Linked DNA regions of Homo sapiens: region 1 is linked to region 2. Evidence: promoter capture Hi-C in human tissues and cell types (Jung and others, 2019). All regions are on one chromosome and are shown on one strand. Each heading gives the region's core, a stretch centred on a gene start or on the middle of the fragment in contact. The rest is flanking DNA. Distances are from core to core; before and after follow the strand shown. Region 1 overlaps ARRB1 (arrestin beta 1). Region 2 holds the start of CHRDL2 (chordin like 2).

Region 1 (6,105 bases), core at 3,198-5,697, 540 kb before region 2:
GCTACCCTTTGGATGTAAGACAGGGGTGGTCTTATGCAGAAGTCCCCACTGGTGGCCTCTGGCCATTGCCTGGGGCTGAATATCCCCAACCCGGGGACGCCTGTGAGACTCCATGGGAGCTACATTCCCGACTCACTCCACCTTGATTCCTCTCCCTCCCTAGTGCGCCAGTATGCAGACATCTGCCTTTTCAACACAGCTCAGTACAAGTGCCCTGTTGCCATGGAAGAGGCTGAGTAAGTGGGCACAAGTCTGGCCTTGGGCGTATGGGATTGGGTGGGAAAAAGAGAAGCTCTAGGTGTCCTGTTACAGGTCCAGGTGGCTCTTCTCCACCTGGCAGAGGGCTGGGCCTCAGACTTCCTTGCCACTCAGAGTAGATGATCCCGAAGAGCCTTTTAGAAACCATCCACCTGATTTAGCTTCAAGAAAATGCATGCTACAGTCAAGGAAGAGACCCACTAAAACTAGAGTGACAAAACAATAGCTAATGAATGTAAGGGGATTGGGGTTGTGAGAAGAAATAATTACGTTGTACAAGAAACCTAGGTTGAAGGGAAATACTTTGTTCTTGGCTTCCTGGTAGCCAGGGCAAAGTGGGTAAGGCACTAGGTACACAGCTCTTGTCTGATAAAGGGGTAATCCAACTCATTGGGAAAAAGGGGTTGTGTGTGGGAGTGCAGAGAATAATTACACACAAAAAAATCATCTAGGTTTGAGGAGAACTGCTATGGTTGAGCATGGATCGAACTTTGTCCCAGGCTTGTTGGCAGCTAAGGCAAGTGGAGAGATCTGAAGTGAAACATCTTTACTTACCTAAAGGAAGTAAATGCTCCCATTCAAAGACATACACATTTTTTTTTCCTGGCCCTGCAAGTAATTTCTTGGGGCAATTATACCTGATATAATTTTACATGTATATGTGTATTTGTTTATGTATAATTCCAATCAGTATTTCTTGCAACTGAAAATATTTTTAAAATGTTACTACATGGCCTTTGAAATAGTTTTTAATGTCCTATAGGTGAACATGCTATGATTAGATCAAGCTTTCTCTGGTTACTGGATATTTTTCATATCCACTGTTGATTTTTTCAAAAAAATCAGAGCTATGAGGCATAGATTCCTGATGGTAAAGTGAAGTGATCTAGAACCAGAGTAACATATAATCCCTAAAGAGTAGAAAATCCCAACCACTGCAGATGGTGCCAGCGTCTGCATAACGAATACCAGCAGGGATGGCTGGGGAGGCATTTGCACTCACAGACTTGTTTACTTCTCAGGAAGCGCTGTGGGGCTGGGGTTGCTGCTGCCCCAGTATGTAGAGGAGGAAGTGGCTCAGAGAGATGTGACTTGCAAGTTAGCAAGCAGCAAAGCTGGGGCTGGAACACGGTCGTCCGACTCCAAGGCTTGTTCACTATCTGCTGCATGACAGCTCTCTCATTGGAAAGGATGGGGGATAGAGCAAAAGCAAGTAAAAATTGGACAATCAAAACACCCTATATATGATGGATGTGATCAAGCAAGTAAAGTTTTAATTGTTGAGCCTAGATGGTGGGTATATGGGTGCCCAAATAGCTTCATTTATGGTTTATGTGTAGCTATAATTTTTTCTTTTTAAAATGTGTTTAGAGACAGGGCTGGTGCTCACGCCTATAATCCCAGCACTTGGGGAGGCTGAGGCAGGCAGATCACTTGAGGTCAGGAGTTTGAGACCATCCTGGCCAACATGGCAAAACCTCATCTCTACTAAAAATACAAAAATTAGTCGGGCATGGTGGCGCGCCCCTGTGATCCCAGCTACTTGGGAGGCTGAGGTAGGAGAACTGCTTCAACCTGGGAGGTGGAGGTTCCAGTGAGCCAGGATCGCACTACTGTACTCTAGCCTGGGCGACAGAGCAAGACTCTGTCTCAAAAAAATAAAATAAAATAAAATAAAATAAAATAAAATAAATTTAAATTAAATTTGTTTAGAGACAGAGTTTCACTCTGTTGCCCAGGCTGGAGTGCAGTGGTATGATCATGGCTCACTACAGCCAGCCTCGAACTCCTGGGCTCAAGTGATCCTCCTGCCTCAGCCTCCCAAGTAGCTAGGACTACAGGTGTGCACCACCATATCAGGCTAATGTTTAAAATTTTTTGTAGCGATGGGGTCTTGCTATGTTGCCCAGGCTGGTCTCAAACTCCTAGCCTCAAGCAATCCTCCTGTCAGCCTCTCAAGTTGCTGGGATTACAGGCATGAGCAACTGTGCCTGCTGTGGCTGTACTTTTTTTTTTTTTTTTTTTGAGATGGAGTCTTGCTCTGTCACCCAGGCTGGAGTGCAGTGGAGCAATCTCGGCTCACTGTAAGCTCCACCTCCCAGGTTCATGCCATTCTCCTGGCTCAGCCTCCTGAGTAGCTGGAACTACAGGCGTCCACCACCATGCCCGGCTAATTTTTTTGTATTTTTAGTAGAGACGGGGTTTCACCTTGTTAGCCAGGATGGTCTCCAACTCCTGACCTCGTGATCTACCCGCCTCGGCCTCCCAAAATGCTGGGATTACAGGCGTGAGCCACTGCACCCGGCTGGCTGTAATTCTTTAAATAAATGTGCTTTTTAGCACTGTGCTGCTTGACTAGGATAATCTTTTAGAATATCCGAGATTCAGTCCTGTTTGTGCGTAGAATGTAGATGTGCCTCTTTTGAGTGGCAGTGGTCTCCTTGCCCGAGCTGGGCTGGCCCAAGTGGTCCGTGTGTCTGGGGGACAGAGGTTGGGAGAGGGAGACTTGGAGCAGGCTCAGACTAGATATTCTGCTGGGCTGGAGATCAGGGCTGGGGTTGGCTCTGGGGAGGGCCATCTCCACAGCTGCTTCCTTTCTTCCCAGTGACACTGTGGCACCCAGCTCGACGTTCTGCAAGGTCTACACACTGACCCCCTTCCTAGCCAATAACCGAGAGAAGCGGGGCCTCGCCTTGGACGGGAAGCTCAAGCACGAAGACACGAACTTGGCCTCTAGCACCCTGTGAGGACCTGCCCTCCTAGCCCTGGGCTCCTAGTGCATCTTGCCTGATGGGGCCACACCCTCCTTGGTCCCCCCAGTTCAAAGACAAGGCTCAGGCTACCCTCTCCATAGCCTTGTCAGGGCCTGTCCTCAGGTGCTTGACTTGTCAGGGAAGCTGCCTCCTTACTCCCAACCCTACCCAGGGGTGACTGAGAGAATAAGATGGACCACTAGGCCAGCTCACTCAGGCAGTGCTGGGCTCTGCTACCATGCCTGGGGGAGGGCAACCTGGGAAGGCTTCCTGCAAGAGGTGGCAGCTTCTGACGTAATGCCTTCAGTCAGATGGGGTGTCCCTGAGGAGAGACCAGGGTGGTGAGCTGGGTTAGACCCAACATGGGGTGCCCCTCCAAGTCAGGGGTCCCAGGGCATCTGGTCACTCCTGCTGCACAGTCATCGTGGACGCCTCTAGGCTACTCTGCTCCAGCAGAGCCCTGGCTATGGGGATGCCATCTTGCCCTCTTGCCAGTGTGGTCCTTCAGTGGGGCTTTGGCCTACGTCTAGAGCAGCCGCCACTCCCAGCACAGACTCAGCTCTCTTCAGCAGCCCCTGCACAGCCTCCCACTTACCTGAAGCTTTTTGCCCTGTCTCCACCCTGGCTCACACCCTACCCATCTTCAAGACCCAGCTGAAGCACCACCTCTGCGGAGAAGTCCTTCTCTGATGGCCCCCACCCCACCCCACCCCAGCTGCCTCGCCCTCTGTGAACTCCCCGTGTGGCCCTTTCTGCCCATGGGTTGCTGAGAGAAGCAGAATCCATCTGAGGGGAGGAGGAGCCTGGCCCTCATGGCGGGGACGCTGGCCTGGGCAGGGAGAGGGGCTCAGCAGGGCCACACAGTGAGCGAGTCTCACAGTCAGACTTGGAACCGGGGCTCTGGGTCCCTGCTACCTAAGGGCACTGCTCGCCTTCCTCATCTCCACTGGGCTCTATTGGACATGGTAGCTGAGTGGCTAGCCAGATGGGGGATGGACGGCCACTGCCCCCCAGCATACCCACCCCTGAGGTGTCTCGCCCACCTGGCAAGGCCCCTGAACTGGCTCCCCTGTGTCACTTTGCAGGTTGAGGGAAGGTGCCAACCGTGAGATCCTGGGGATCATTGTTTCCTACAAAGTGAAAGTGAAGCTGGTGGTGTCTCGGGGCGGGTGAGTGCTCCAGCCAAGCCCAAGACCCCGGAGTGCAGAGGGGAGCGTCCCAGGTGCCCACAGGCCCCTGCCCCATTCTGCCTGTTTGCAGCCCTTTTAGCTGCATCCACCTTGGAGGAGGAACCTCCTGTCCCTTCTTTTCCTCCCTTCTGTTCCTCTTTCTCCCCCGCCCGCTTTCCCTCTCTTCCTTCCTTGGCCCTCAGCCCCTCTCTTACCCCCACCCATCTCTTTCTCTCTCTCCTCCTCCTCTATCCTAGGTCTGGGCTCGCACTGAGGATTGGCCATGCCCAGGGGACGGCGTCCTCAGAGTCTTTGCTGTGGGGTCCCCAGGGGTGCCATCTCCTTATCACACTTTGGGCATAGCACCCACCCCCATGCATGCCCAAGCTGATTTTCTGAGGAAACAGCTAAAAGGGCTCAGAACCCAGAGCTGGATTGGGGATTTGCTAGTCAGCTTTCCCATTTTACAGATGGTGAAACAGAGGCCCAGACAGTGCCCCAAACATTGCCTGAAATCTCCTCTCCTAACTCAGGTCATAGTGGTGGACCAGACTGCCCTGCCCTGGAGCATAGTTTGGTGGAAGCTCAGGGAGAAAAACAAACAAACAAACTACTGTGTTTCTTTTTTGTAACTTAATTCATAAATTTCTATGAAAAGATTGAAAAGCTAAATCCCATTAGACATTGGGTCTCCTTGATTATTAGAAGAATGCCTCTTGGCAGGTGGCAGTATGTAATCCTGACCTTATATAATAGGACATCTCAAAATTACAAATCCCAAATCCTGTGTCTGGTGACCTTTCAGGACCCACAGTCCCTCAAACATTCTTGGCAACCCCGGAGTCCTTCCCTCTGCCTTTAGATAGTCCGGCCTCCCTTGGGACAGGCAGCACTGGGGTTAATTTTTACACTGCCTTGACAGATGAGGATCCTGGGGCTCAGGGGTTTGCTGAGCTGGGTCTGGATCCCAGTCCCTCGGGGCAGGGCTAATGCCATTTCGGTGTATCCCTGAAAGAGCAGTCAGGGCTGTGCAGGGGGGTGGGTGGGAGTGTGTCCCGTGGGTCTTCTCTATCCGGGGGACAGCAGAAGTGGTGAATGAATGTGCTTTTTGTTTTCTTCCTCTCTGAACTCTCTCCTGACCACTTCTCCTGCCTCCTCTGACCCACCCAGCCTGTTGGGAGATCTTGCATCCAGGTAAATTCCTCCCTTCCACCTGGTTCACCCACCTTCCTGGAGGGCCTGGAGCCCATTGGCTTGACTGACCAGAATCACAGGGCACTGGGTTGGAAGGAATCTTAGTGGTCATTTCAGATAGCCAGGTTCAGGTGTGAGCTGGGAGACACAATTTCTCCTTAACAAACCTCACCTTGCTCTTCCATCCCACCTGAGTGACAGGGATCTTTACAGAGAGCAAAGCCTGATTACACTGATACAGGGAGTGGCCCCCAAGAGAGCTGTCTGAATTACTGATCACCTGAATTATAGGAGCTTTTGGAGAAATGCAGACTTCATGGCTTTCAAACTTCTACACTAGTGAGGAGGGAACTGCTGGCCAAGTGTTGCTAAGGAGAGGTCCTCAGGAGATCCTATTTTGTAAACAAGGTCTCCTTGCAGCCAGCTGGATGCACTTATATTCCAAAAATGCATGTACCCCAAACACAGCAGTTTGGCCTCCTTCTGTCACAAGATGGCAGTGTGGCTCATCCTAAGAAATCTTAAACTAATTTGACAGGTGAAATTCATTCAATTCAATTCAGTTCCATATCATTCAGCAAAGATTTCCTCAACCCAGGCTTGCGTCCAGGCTGGTGCTGAGTGCCAGAGTCCCAGAGAGGAATCAGATGTGGTCCCTGACCTTATCGTTCCTGGCCCGGTAGAAGGTTAAGATCCAGATTCTTCCACTAAAATGTTGGCAAACCCAGTCT
Region 2 (6,563 bases), core at 3,630-6,129:
ATTAACTGTGAAGGTCCTTTAAATAAGACTTTCCTCCTAATGTAAATAAATTGGACTCAGCTTTATTTATTTATTTATTTATTTATTTATTTATTTAAATGGTATAGGGTTTCACAATGTTGCCCAGGCTGGTCTCAAAGTGATCCTCCCACGTCAGCCTCCAGAGAAGCTGGGACTACAGACATGCCACCACCACTGGCTGAACTCAGCTTTAAAGAGGCTATTTGTTCATTGCATTTCAGCACCTAATCATGTAAAAGCAGCGTACTAGAGGGGGCTTTTACCAGCTAAGGAGAGCCAGGGGTTAAATTTTCAGAAATGTTGCAAGCTGGTTATTGAACACAATCATTCCTAAAAATTAAATAACATAACGTATAATTAAATAAGTTACACTTAAAACAGAGGTAATAAAAACTGAGTCATCACTTCCTAATTACTACTCTCAATGTTCTTGAGGTTATTTACATCTACTATGTCGATAGGGAGGAAATACTGTATAACGGTATTTCACTGTGCCTCTCTTCTCCACTGCGCTTTCAGTGATGTCACATTGGTAGCATGAATTGGCCACAGTGGGAGTATTTACACCACAGACATTGGCAACTGTAAAAAACAACACTTTTTTTCCCCTGGAGAACCAGTTGTTAAACATTTACCAGCACACCACTGGTGTAGAGTCTCTATTATGTAATCTTCTTGTGGTGAATCTTCTTTTAGAATCTTATGGACAGAATTAAGCGGACTAGGCTAAGTCTCTCCTTGACACTGATCCCTATGATCCTTATCGCTATGGTAATTTTACATAATTAAGCAACCTGTGGCGGAGGAGGTGGCCTTTTAGTCACAAATAGCATGTCACATGAGGACTGTTTGAAGGAACTAGGATATTATTCAACAAACCTTTATTTAGCAGCAAATATGTGCAAAGCTGTGTGTTGAAGGCTAGGGAAGATATTAAATAGTAGTCTATGTTCTCAAAGAACTCACTATAGAGGAGGTGACACAAAACCTATTGAAAATACAATGTAGTAAGTGCTATAACAAAGAAGTATGGAGCAGAACGGAGCTAACTCAGAGACCAGCAAAGAGGATTCAGAGCACCTAGAATACAAGTGTCGGTGTCTGTCTTGTTCTCCACTGTGTCCCTAGCACCTAGCACTATGTCTGGCCCAGAATTTGCACTCAATAATTGTTGCATGAGTGAAGGAGTTAGCAATTACCTTAACCCTTGAAAAATAAGTAAGCTTGCCAGACAAATCAAAGTGAGTACAGAGAGGGCATTCCAGGGCGAAGAAACAGTGTTTGCAGAGTCATGGAGGCCCAAGAGCTTGGCACATTTGAAGACAATGTTTAATATGGCATGAGGGGTCCCGGGACCCAGACTGGTAAAGGTGAAGGTATGGAAGAGGGGTTCTCTGCCCCAAATCTCTAGAGAGCTCTCAAAAGACAAAAGGACTTGGCTTGTTCTGTATAGCCCTGGGGACAGAGTGAGGGGCAACACAGGCAGTCACAGAGAATCAGATTTCAGTTTAATATAAAGAACTTTCTAACAGAGCTGTCCAACAGTGGAATGGGCTGCCTTGGCAGGCAATGAGCAAGTTCGCTATGAAGGAAGAAAGCAGATGCCAGATAAACTCTTAGTGCAACAAACTGCTATGGGGAGATGCATTTTTTTTTCCTGACTAGATTTTGGAAGAATTTATTCAGTCTCCTTTTTAAAAGGGTATTAAATAATATATAGACAACTCTCTTCAATAGTATTTCTACAGAAGACACAAAGACTTTCTTTCTTTCTTTTTTTCTTTTTGAGACAGTCTTGCTCTGGAGTGCAGTGGTGCAAACACGGCTCACTGCAGCCTCAACCTCCTGGGCTCAAGCGATCCTCCTGCCTCAGCCTTCAGAGTAGCTAGGACTACAGGTGCGTGCCACTATGCCCAGCTATCTTTTTTACTTTTTGTAGAGACGAAGTTGGGGGGGGGTCTCACTTTGTTGCCCAGGCTGGTCTTAAACTCCTAGGCTCAAGCCATCTTCCCACCTCAGCCTCCCAAAGTGCTGGGATTACAGGTGTGAGCCACTGGGCCCGGCCTGACACAGAAACTTTCAAGTGTTTGTTTCTTATGTCAATCATTGACTAAAGCTGAGGCCAATAGTGGGCTGAAGGCTTTTCCAATCACTGAGGTCTTCACTCATTCATGTAGCAATTATTTATTCAGTATCTGTGTGTCAAGGACTTTGCTAAATGCTCGAATTACAGATATAAATTTCAAAAGGCACCTGCACTCACAGTGCAGGGTAAAAATGCAAATAAATACTTACACTCCAACAGCTACAATTCAAAGTGCTATGGGAAACACAAAGACTAAACATTGACTTTGCCTGGGGGACTCAGGGAAGACCTTGGAGTGGAGGTGACTCAACTGACCTTTGGAAAGTTAAATGGGATTCACTAGATGGAGGAAGAGAGAGTCCAGGCAGAAGGAAAACATGTGTGAGGATATGGAGGTGCGACGACGCATGGTCAGTTTGGGGAGGTGAGCGGTTGGCCAAAGTGTAGGGTAGGTGGCAATGGTAGATTGGAACTAAAATATGCGTGGTGTTCAATTCAGTGCTGAAAATTTTAGATTTTAACCTATAAATGATAGGAAGTGAATAATAGGTTTTATGTGGGAAAGTGATGTGATCAGATTTGTCAGTAGAAATGATCAGCATAGTTCTCAAGGCAGGTGTGAGGAAAATAGATAGGAGAGATCCAGATTAGGGGGAGGAGACCTGGTAAGAGGCTGTTGGGAAAGTTCAAGTAAGGAATGAAGATGGCCGGGTGCGGTGGCTCATGCTTGTAATCCCAGCACTTTGGGAGGCTGAGGTGAGTGGATCAGCTGAGGTCAGGAGTTCAAGACCAGCTTGGCCAACATGGCGAAACCCCATCTCTACTAAAAATACAAAAATTATAGGTGGTGCATGCCTGTAATCCCAGCTACTCGGGAGGCTGAGGCAGAAGAATCGCTTGAACCCAGAGGCAGAGGTTGCAGTGAGCCCAGATCACGCCACTGCACTCCAGCCTGGGCGACAAGCGCAAAACTCCATCTCAAAAAAAAAAAAAAAAGGAATGAAGTTGGCCTCAACTCTGGGGATAATAGGGATGGACAGGAGGGCTGAGATGGTGGAGGCCTTTTTTGAAGTATGATGGGCAGGATGTAGGGGAACCCATCTTAATCCACTTCTTACATCTAAGACATGAATATATGTGCACAGCACATTTTAAACAAAGAGAAAGGAAAAGATCACTGTCCCAAACCCTTGGGATGAGATTGTTTATGCAATTAAGCAGCACAGGATTTAACTCTGAGATCCCTGGAAGCAAAGGCAAAAAGGGAAGCATGGTGACATGCATAAGCTTGCACTATCTGTTAAAATAAAGAATACTCAGGGGAAAGGAAGAGACTGGCCAGATTAGAGTAGAAATTAAGCCTGAAGGGCACTGGACAGATCATGTTTGTCCCTGATCCTGAGAGCCCTAGGAAGGGCCAGTTTGGGGATCACTGGTTCCTCCTACTGCTCTCTTTTGGAGGGTGGAGATCTTGGGGGTAATACCCTGAAAGCACAGTGCAATGGGGAGCCCAGCCTTGGCCCAGAAAGATACCTTTACAGCCAGCCAGCCAAGTGTTTAAACCCGGAAATATGATTCCCTACCAGAGTGGGATATGGCTCAACATCCCTTCCCACCTCATACTCCTCTGGCACTCTTTGGAGTCTCCATTAGCTCTTCAAGAGAAGCTGGGCAGAAAGTTGAGGTCCAAAGCAAGGATAGATGTATTTACTCAAAGTGGCCCAACAAGTTACGGATGGAGCCAGGACAGTGACTCTGCCCTTTTGATTTCAGAGCTTGTGTGTTTCTGGTCTGGCCAGAGCTGGCTATTCTCTTCTTAGTGTCCTATTAGTGCATGTGTTCATTCAACACAAGAGATGGAGCACCATTTGAGGGCTGGAGGGTGTCAGGGCCCTGTCCTCAGGGAGCTCCCCTTCTGGTGGGAAAGAAAACTCTTTGACAATCAGCTCTCCCTAAAGATGACTGAAGGTGACCATCACTCCCAGAGAAGTGCAGGCCTCACCTGCAAAGGCAAAGGAGAGATCTTGCCTTGATTCGGGAGTGGGAGCGGGGAGCAGAGGAAGACCTCCAGGGGAAGGCACAGGATCCCTATGGGCTGACTTTCCTGAGAATGGCGCATGGGCAGACGGAGTGGGGACAGGGGCCACTGGTATTGTAGGCACCTGGAATTAGGACCCCTTCTCTTTGTGGGGTGAGTGTTTCGACGTTCATTACCTTATTTCATCTTAGCAACACTCGTGGGAAGATAGTAGAGATATTTTAAGATCTTAAAATGCCCATTTTAAAGCTGGGAAAACAGACTCTCCGGTGGCGTGCTGTAGACCACAAACTGAATTAAGAACGCCAGTGTTCTGATTCCATCCATCTGCGGAGTTCCGGGCACGCACCGCCGAGCGCCTTACCCTGAGCCTTCCCGGTACCCGCAGCCCCGACAGCTCAGCCTTCCCCACCTGAAAGTTCCACCTGAGGTCTCCCTCAACTCTGCCCTCCTGCATTCTTGGCGTCGCGGGGAGTCAGGGGTTAAACCCCGTGGCCCGCGTGGCCCCTTCCCCCTCCGCAGCCCCCTCGCCTCCACTCGGCGCCGCGCCTGGAGCGTCCGTCCCGGAGACCCGCACAAGAGAGGAGGGGAAAAAGTGGGCCTGTTTCTCGGGTGGCCAATCCACCGAGCCCGCGGTGCCCCAGAGGAGGCGCCAGCGCTAGGCCAGCGCCAGGCCGGGCTGCCTGCTTCCCGCGGCAAAGTACAAATGCGCCCGAGCGCGGCGCCTGAAGCCCTTGGCGAGCACAGCCGGCCCGCGCTCAGCCTCCCTCCGCGGCCGCCGCGCCGCCGCCGCTGCTGGGACCGCCGCCCCGCCGGGCCCCAGGCCCCCGCGGCCCGACCCCGAGCCCACCGAGCAGGGGGCGCCGGCCGCCTCTAGCCCGCGCGCCCGCAACACCCGCTGGTCCCGCGCGCCTCGCCCGGCGCTGCGCGCTCGGCAGACGCCGGTCCTCTCCCTGCTTTCTCCTCCTCTCCCTCTCACCTTCCCCCTTTCTTTGATCGCCTCTCCCTTCTGCTGGACCTTCCTTCGTCTCTCCATCTCTCCCTCCTTTCCCCGCGTTCTCTTTCCACCTTTCTCTTCTTCCCACCTTAGACCTCCCTTCCTGCCCTCCTTTCCTGCCCACCGCTGCTTCCTGGCCCTTCTCCGACCCCGCTCTAGCAGCAGACCTCCTGGGGTCTGTGGGTTGATCTGTGGCCCCTGTGCCTCCGTGTCCTTTTCGTCTCCCTTCCTCCCGACTCCGCTCCCGGACCAGCGGCCTGACCCTGGGGAAAGGATGGTTCCCGAGGTGAGGGTCCTCTCCTCCTTGCTGGGACTCGCGCTGCTCTGGTTCCCCCTGGACTCCCACGCTCGAGCCCGTAAGTAGACCGGGAGGCTGGGTGGGCAGAGGAGGGATGCGGCCCCTGGAATGTGAGGGACAGCGCCAGGACCTGGACCCCAAGCTCTTCTGACAGCCGTCCAGGCAGCACCTGTGCCGGAGGGGTGGAGACTCCGTGAGGACCAGTATGGGCCGGGGGACCGGAGGAACTCGGCACAACTCAGAACTGAGAGAGGGCTGCTGCCAGGGACCTGAGGAGGGGCACCAAGGGCAGCGGGGGGAGAGGGCAGGGCACTGTGTTTTGGGTTGGGGGAGGACTTACTGTTCCTAGGAGGGAGTCGGGTATGTCTGGCTACAGGTAAGGAGTGTGATGGAGAAGAAAAGGCTTTTTGCCTTTGGAAAGAGCCATTGGACAGAAATGAGAGGTAATTAGGATAACCTTCCCATTCTTTTCTCTCTTTTGATCCTCGCAACTCTCCAGTGAGGTGGGTATTATCATTCGCACTTTACAGATGAGAAAACTTAGGCTGAGCAAGGAGGAACTTGCTAAAACTTACAGAGCGGGTAAGCCATCCAAAGCCAGAACTCTAGTTCCAGATCCCATGCTTTATTCCCTGCCTCACATTGTCTAGAAGGAACCCTGAATTTGCAGTGTGAGACTCTGGGAGGCGGCAGGGCACAGTGAGATAGACCAGCGTCTTCACCATCCCAGCCCCGCTGAATGCCAGCTGCTGGGAGGCCGTCACAGAGTGCACCTCTCTGACCCTGGGTTTCCTAATCTATAAAGCGGAAGTAAAAATCCTAGGAGAGTTGATAGGATTAAATTAGAGAAAAGAGGTAAAGCAGCTAGCACAAGACTGGTGCTTGATAGCTTCCAAAAAAAATCAGTTCCCAATTATGCTTTTCCACATAGATACAGTGTAACATCAAACAGGTTACATCATCAATCTGAGCCTCAGTTTCCTCACTGCGCCCACAATAGGCTGGTGGTCCCCCCTCCCCATGCCCAGCCAATCTCTTAGAATGCTGTGAGGATGGAAAACCAAACCACATTCTCTTAATCAGAAGAAAGGAGCTTCATTCAAGCAGTGGGTTTCTCCAGGAC

Evidence for each region. Contacts are between HindIII fragments. The study calls those that stand out against the background at their distance.
Region 1: a fragment that was not itself captured here is called in contact with the fragment with the promoter of CHRDL2 in region 2 in 1 of the 25 tissues and cell types used here (lymphoblastoid cells).

What each region holds. Positions count from the first base shown.
Region 1 is chr11:75,270,970-75,277,074 of GRCh38, reverse strand. ARRB1 (arrestin beta 1) reads left to right here. Exons shown (of 16, transcript NM_004041.5): 10 at 164-236; 11 at 2,864-3,001; 12 at 4,097-4,180; 13 at 5,351-5,374. Among named protein-coding and RNA genes, the nearest start is that of TPBGL, 33 kb to the right of the region's middle. RefSeq lists an enhancer at 4,015-4,516. The HindIII fragment of the contact is 4,235 bases long and covers 2,330-6,105 here.
Region 2 is chr11:74,729,742-74,736,304 of GRCh38, reverse strand. CHRDL2 (chordin like 2) reads left to right here and starts at 4,879. Exons shown (of 11, transcript NM_001278473.3): 1 at 4,879-5,498. The coding sequence starts at 5,417. The HindIII fragment of the contact is 7,141 bases long and covers 2,320-6,563 here.